Regions from separate parts of the Homo sapiens genome. Here region 1 is linked to region 2. The links are contacts of gene promoters, found by promoter capture Hi-C in blood cells and fetal thymus (Javierre and others, 2016). All regions are on one chromosome and are shown on one strand. Each heading gives the region's core, a stretch centred on a gene start or on the middle of the fragment in contact. The rest is flanking DNA. Distances are from core to core; before and after follow the strand shown.

Region 1 (3,646 bases), core at 356-2,855, 400 kb after region 2:
AGAACAGTGAGGGAAGAGCGAGGCCCCCCAGGCCAGGTTCAGCACAATCTAGCACTGACCCATTCCCTAGAGACCTGCTTTGCCCAGATTTTCGCTCAGGTTCCTTCCCTCTCCCATTTGCCTTGGGTATATTGATTGGTTACAAGCCAATCAAGAGGTTCTCATTTCTCTTGCCAGTGATTGGTTTAGGGGCAGGCATGTGGCAGCACAGAAGAGACACAATCATATCCCTTTTGTCCAATGAGATACAATTCTGGGAAGAATTCCTTCTCTTTTAAAAAGAGTCATATGAGAAAAAAAGTCTTTTGGACTTCCACTGGATGTAGTCAGAGTCATCTTATGTGCAGCTTATGGGCAGCTGGGGAGTGGCCTCTGGAGAAGACGCTGAGGACAGCAAGCAAGAAATAGGGATGAGATTGGAATATTTGAGGGTACAGCTGCTTCTCTTAATTAATCAACCCAAGATCCAGTGTAAGTCTGGACTCCTTGTGATATGAAATAGTAAATATCCCTCATGGGTAAGGCATTTTAAGCTGAACTTTCTGTTACTTGGCACCAAAGATATCTGACTGAAATAGACCCTGAACTTGACTTTTACCTGCAGCCTCACACACATGCATTTATACTTTCATATACATACACACACACACACACACATGCATGCGCACACACACATACACACACACTATGGCCCTTGAGGTAGCTGTGGTTTTGGGCCTCATGTCTCCTGCTCTCATCAAGCCCCTCTACTCCCCCAAACCACCTAGTGGTCTCTCACTAACCCCCAGAGACTGAAGGCTTGGGCCCCTTTCACGCTGTCACTGCTTTCTAGGGACTGAATGACCTTCCATCTTTGGAGAGAAAGGGCTGAAGAAGGAGGACGGTCTCTCTTGGCTGGGAATCCATTTTACCTAAGTCCCCATGCCAAGACAACGTAGATTAATACAACCTGGGATTAGAGAAGTGAAGCAGTGTCTGCCTGGTGTGTGTTGGGCGTTACCAGGGACATCCAATGCCCTAGGAGAATTCCTCCCAACCACATTTTGTTCCCTGAAAAGCCACCAAACTCCACCCTAAGAACTGGATGCCTTTCGCTTAAAGATTTGCCCTTGTGTGTTAAGATGCAGTCAATCTGAAGAGGAAGGAAAATCCCAGAATGATTGTGTGGGGAGCAGAAAGGGGAATAGCACACTAGAAACCACAAAGAACTGGGGAAGGGAAAGAAAGAGATAAGGGGCAAACTGAAAGTGCCAAAGACAAGCTTGACCGAGTTGAGGATTTTGCCATGTCAAAGGCTATTCCAAACCAAGAGCGAGGACTCCAGGCCAGGGCTGGGACTTCTGCCACCAGGGGTGAGATGCCATGGCTGTGACTTGGGCATTTCCCTGTATCCACATGAAGAGAGCTGAGAAGCCTCTCACTGAACTGGCCAGAGCCTGAAGAGGACAAGAGACCTTTGCTGATGAAGACGCAGGGTAGGTATGGACTCAGCAGGGAATGGGCTTGGATCTGTCTGTCCTTCTGCTGCTGGCCCAGGTCAGAGCTGCACACTCTGGCCACGGCACAGCACGGAACTGCCCTGCTCACAGAATCATAGTCATCACTCAGGCTTCAGGAACATCACATTCTCACTGTTTCTCGAAGCCTGAATACTGGAAACTCTGGGACCAGTCGTGTCTCTCTCTCCAGGCCCTTTGACCAGAAAGATACTGGATCTTTTGTAACAGGGTTATCTGAAAGGTCAATTTCTCAAGTTTAGTTTGTTTTTTGTTTTATTTTGCTCTAGTTTCTATGTTTATTTCTTGTTGTGTGTGTTTTTCCCCTGAGGCCATGGCTGAATGGTCTTCTTTGAGAATTATCTTCTGGCATGAAATATAAGAAAAAGCCCTGAGAAAGATATAGAGAAATTTACCCCCAGAAAGCTGAGGAAGGTGCCTGTTGAAGCTTATTACCTCTTCAAGATATCTGGGTTGTCATACGTCAGGTAACTGCGGCCGATAAACTGCGGGATCTCAATGGCTTCTATGATCGCTGGGACAGAACAGAAAAAGGAGGTTACATAGTATGTGGTTCTCTTGACCCCTGCACTCACACACATGGCAGGAAAACACCCAGCTCCTGGAAATAGGATGTTTAACAATTCATCAGCCCCTTCCCTTCGGCTGCACGCATATTTGGCCAGGTTCACAGTTGCCCAACCCCATGGCCTGGGGTTGGCTTCTCCCCCATTTTTCCCTCCTGGGGAAGTATTGTCCCTGCCTCTGGCCTCAGCGCTGCTGAGAAGGCCTCACAATGTGCTGAAACTTGAACTGTTCCCAATTATTCTTGGAAGCCAAAGAGCAGCTCTTGGGCCATGTGGGGAGCAGCTGGGGATAACCCCAGATGTTCTCCTAGGGAGGCAGAGAAAACAAATCCCTAAATAAGGCCCACTAGGATTCTTGAAAGCTAATTTGCTGCAGAACCTTTTAAGCTAGGACTTCGAGAGACTCTAAAGCACTATGAATGAGGCTTGGACTCCCGCATTTCTGATCACTTTCCAGTGTATTTCACAAGATCTTTTTTTTTTTTTTTTTTTGAAACAAAGTTTCGCTCTGGTTGCCCATGCTGGAGTGAAATGGCGCGATCTTGGCTCACTGCAACTTCCACCTCCTGAGTTCAAGCAATCCTCCTGCATCAGCCTCTCAAGTAGCTGGGATTACAGGCACCTGCCACCAAGCCTGGCTAATTTTTGTATTTTTAGTAGAGATGGGGTTTCACCACATTGGCCAGGCTGGTCTCGAACTCCTGACCTTAGGTGATCCACCCGCCTCGGCCTCCTAAAGTGCTGGGAATTACAGGCATGAGCCACTGTGCCTGGTCTATTTCACAAGATCTTCACTACAATCTCATGAAGTAGCAGGTAGTATGGGGGAAGGGAAGGGTTGGTTATTCTCATTTTATGGAAGAAGAAAGTGAGGAGTAGAAAGCATGGAGGATTTGCCTGAGATCACGTAGTTAAGAGAGCACTAGGCCTTGAAACTGACCAGCTCTTCTTAATTCTGGCTTCTGGCCCCCTCTCAACTTTCCAATATTTTAGAAATGCATTTTCTTCCTCCCAAACTCTCATCACTTTGTTTTCCTGAGGAATTACCCTTTTACACATAGTTAGCAAAAGAAGAGTTTAAGTAGCTGTGTGTGATGTCATGAACGGGGGATGAGGCTAGGGGATTTCTGCTGGAGAAATAACAGCAATATCTCTTTCCTCTTTGGAAAGATACAGAAATGGTGGTTTAAAGAAATTAAGGTAGAATAAATCTCAAATTCAAAGAAATGTACAAAATGAGGGAGAATAAGAAGGTTTATAAAACACGTTATAGCTTCACGAAAATACATGGTTGGTGCAAAGAAGACACTGAACGAAGGACTCTCCACCCCAGAGAGGAAATGTAGAATTATTTGATACTATGAAAATTCGTACAGATTAACCTTCAAACATAAAAAAAGAGCGGAAACAGCAAAGCCTATGACAATGGGCCCCCAAGTACAAGTCCCTATGTTGGCAGCTTCCCAGAGCCTTTCATAAAAACTAAAAAAGAAAGGAAGAGAGGAAAGAAAACAAGAAAAGCAAAGGACGAAACAGAAAATTTAAAAGACAATTTTGGAGGTA
Region 2 (3,652 bases), core at 139-2,638:
ACCTCTTTGGGCCTCAGTTTCCTCAATAAAATATAATAAAAAACTAGTACCCGCCTCACCCGTGAAGCTTAAATGAGCTAGCATATGTCAAGTGCTTAGAATAGGGGCTGGTTCACAGTAAGTATGAACCATTATTATTTGCAGACAAGGAAACTAAGAGGTGATAAGTAGTTTGACCCATGTTCCAAAGTCAGTTTTAATCTTGGGAATAAAACCTAAAAATTTCTTTCTCCTCCATCAGAATTCCTTCTAGCTCAAACTAAGTATCCTACATTCAATTCTATCTTCTCTGCCTTCATAGACCCTTCCATTTACTTCTCTTGAATATCTTGTTCCCAAAGTGTTTTCAAGGCAGGTCTGTTACCAAGCCACTCCATCAGCAGCACCTAGCACTGTGCCTCCCGCAGCAAGGCAGGCAGGATGGATGGACGGATGCAGGCATGCATGGGTAGGTGGATGAAGGGCAGATGAAGAACTATCGAGAAAGGAATCGCGGTGTCAGGGGTAAAGCCCTGGCCTGCGAGAGCCGGGCTCGGATTTCAGTGCCCTCACAGCTAGCCATATGGCCTTGGACAAGTTACTGAACCCCTCCGTGCCTAGGTTTCCAGAATGTAGAGGGCCACTTCCACTCAAGTGGCTGGAGAAGAAGGTAAGCGCCCCGGACGGACGCTATTGCAGAGTCGCCCGGGGATTCCTCTCTCCACCTGTGCTTGAGCTCCTCCCGCTTCTACGCTAGGGACCAGGTGGGAGAGATACACGGATTCCCAGAAAAATGGCTCTCTCAGGTGGGAGTCAAGGGTTACGAGAGGAGAGGTAGGGGAAGCAATGAACTCCTCCACACGATGTGTTGGGAGAGAGGAAAGAGGGATTCAAGTGGGAATTTTCCACTCAACAAACATTCCACCATCATTTGAGAAAAAGGCGCTGGGATGGTGAATTTCAAACAGTCTGAGAAATGGGCGACTCGGCACTGTGCGGCCTGTAAGGAATGAATCATTTAGTTTTCACCCACCAGGTAGGCAGGCCGGGGGCGAGGACCCTCCGAGCGCCGTCCGAGCGCAGGTGGTAGCCCAGCCAAGCAAACGCTGGGCAGAGGCGGCACCGAGGAGGGGAACGGGCTGCTGCACTCCCGGTCGCGTCCAGCCGGGATGGGCTGCGAAGTTGTCGGATTCTTTCCCGCACAGCACGGGGCTCGCCCGTCGGAAAAGCCACCGAGGGCGGCGCAGCGGCAGGGCGCGAGCAGAGCGGGGACGGGCGGGTCGGGGGTACTCACGCCGCGGGCGAAGGGCTCCACGAGCCGGGCCGAGTCCTCGGCGGCGCGTGGGGCGCGGGTGCGGGCTCCGGGGCGGACGTGCAGAGGCGGCCCGGGCCGGGGCTATGAATCAGCTGCGGGGCAAGCGCGGAGGGGCGGGAGTTACTGGAAAACCGCGGGGGAGGGCAGAGGGGTGAGGTCTTTTGCAATTTCCCGTCTTGCTGCGCACTCTTGGCACTCCTGGGACCCACAGGAATTCCCTCCCTTCAGTCCCGGGGGGAGGCGGCCGCGATCCTGGGGGAGGCGCAGCCTCACAACCCGGACTTTGCGGGCGGGCGGGCACTGGTGAGAAGAGGAAGTGGGAGAGGCCTGGGAAGGAAACTTGGAAACCGAAAACTCGGCGGCCGAGGCTCCGTGCCCCGCGCGCAGCGCTGCTCCTGCCCCGGCCAAGGACGCACGGGCCAGCCGGCGGAACCAGAGGTAAGCCGAGTGACCGATGAGGCCTGGGGCTGTGTATCCCACAGGGGCACTTGTCATCCCAACCCAGAGGCCAAACCCGTGAGATCCCCGTCCGAAAATCTTCAGGCAAGAGAAGTCCTTTAACTAAATTTTGGCCGTGTTTCCATTTGGCGTCCAGAGCAACGAAAACGTGTTTGAACCGAATCAAACGGTCCCCATTTTTCCCCTACTCGCGTTCTATCCAGAAACGCCCTGTCCGACAAAGTTTCTTCGGCTACAACAGTCCCGAAACCTTTATTTCCCAATGCTACGACATGCTACACATGGTTTACTTTTCCCCTTAAAAATGCCATCCAATCTTCAACCTTTTTTTTTTTTTTTTTTTGAGACGGCATCTCACTGTGTCACCCAGGCTGGAGTGCAGTGGCGCGATCTCGGCTCACTGTAAGCTCCGCCTCCCGGGTTCACACCATTCTCCTGCCTCAGCCTCCCTAGTAGCTGGGACTACAGACGACCGCCACCACGCCTGGCTAATTTTTCTATGTTTAGTAGAGACGGGGTTTCACCGTGTTAGCCAGGATGGTCTCGATCTCCTGACCTCGTGATCCGCCCGCCTCAGCCTCCCAAAGTGCTGGGATTACAGGCGTCAGCCACTGCGCCCGGCCAAAAATGCCATCCAATCTTTACCGTGTCTGGGCCTTTGAAAGGTGCATTTCACCTCTCTTAGAGGATAACAGGAGCCTTCCGAGGCAGCCTCGGACCGGGAGCTCCCATAGCCTCGCCTGTCTGGATGCCTGACAAATCAGCAGGCAAGGGGCCTTGCTCCAGATCAGCTGAGCCTAGTTTGGTTTGAGTTTGGGGACCCTGGAAAGTATCACAAAAGCAAGGTTGTAGGAGGGGGGTGGGGGAGGGAACCAAGAGTGATCAACAAGTATCGACCATAAACATATCTTAGAATCCTATATTGAATTGACTGGATGACTCAAAATAATGTCAGAATTATTTTAAAATGTTACTTTTGTGTTTGTTCACATATCTGGCTCCTCCCCAATGTCATCCCAAGGAAAGCTGAGAGTCCTTTTGTTTTTTTATTTTTCCTAAAACAAAGGCCTAAAGGCCCTAATACACTTAATACCTAATGGGGCCACAAAGACCATGATGCATAGTAAATATTTGATGATAATAAAATGTATTTTTGTCTCAATAAATGTATGGTCCTTTGCCACACCTCTCATTACTTGAAGAGTTTTAAAGAGTCCATTAGTTTAGCCATCTGCATGGTTATGGAAACTGCCAAGCCCAAGAGTTGGAAAGTCTTTATGATTTTATATTTTACTGAGAAAAAAAATTATTCTTTATAGAAACAGTTAAAAGGGATCTCTCTTCTAGCAAATGAGATGTCAAATAAAAATATTCAGCCCAGTATGAATTTCTAAAAAGTGAGGCTTATTTTGGGCTCCTATTGCAATTGAAGGAGACTGAAGTGTAAAAATTTGGTGCCCACATATAATTTATCTGTTTTTGCACCATTCTAATTTCTTAAATTTATACGTTATTCTAGAATCTAGATGCAGTAGCACCATATAAATTCGCGATTATACCCTTAACAGTGGGTGCACTGGGTCCATAAAGTCAGATCCACCCAAAACCTCCAAATATCAGTTTATTTGGAAATAATGTTTTTGCAGCTTTAATCAAGTTAACCTGAGGTCATATAAGATTAATCCAGTGTCTGCTGTACTTCTGAAAAGGGGGGAATTTGGACACAGACACCCAGAAAGAACACTGTGTGACCACTGAGACAGATCCTGCTTATGCTGACTCAAGCCAAGGAATGGCAAGGTTGCTGACCACCACCAGAAGCTAGGAGAGAGGAACGGAACAGGCTCCCTTTGAACCCCTAAGAAGAAGCTAGCCCTGCCAACATCTTCATTTCAGACT

Evidence for each region. Contacts are between HindIII fragments. The CHiCAGO score rates a contact against its expected background, and 5 or more counts as called.
Region 1: a contact is called between a fragment that was not itself captured here and the fragment with the promoter of OSMR in region 2, in 1 of 17 cell types (M1 macrophages). The highest score is 5.3, in M1 macrophages.

Annotation. Positions count from the first base shown.
Region 1 is chr5:38,446,686-38,450,331 of GRCh38, reverse strand. It overlaps EGFLAM (EGF like, fibronectin type III and laminin G domains), which reads right to left. Exons shown (of 22, transcript NM_152403.4): 18 at 1,953-2,031. All of the region lies in intron 1 of EGFLAM-AS5 (EGFLAM antisense RNA 5), which reads left to right. Among named protein-coding and RNA genes, the nearest start is that of EGFLAM-AS5, 20 kb to the left of the region's middle. The HindIII fragment of the contact is 683 bases long and covers 1,264-1,946 here.
Region 2 is chr5:38,843,748-38,847,399 of GRCh38, reverse strand. It overlaps OSMR (oncostatin M receptor), which reads right to left and starts at 1,388. Exons shown (of 18, transcript NM_003999.3): 1 at 1,013-1,388. OSMR-DT (OSMR divergent transcript) reads left to right here and starts at 1,571. Exons shown (of 4, transcript NR_109951.1): 1 at 1,571-1,732. The HindIII fragment of the contact is 5,506 bases long and covers 70-3,652 here.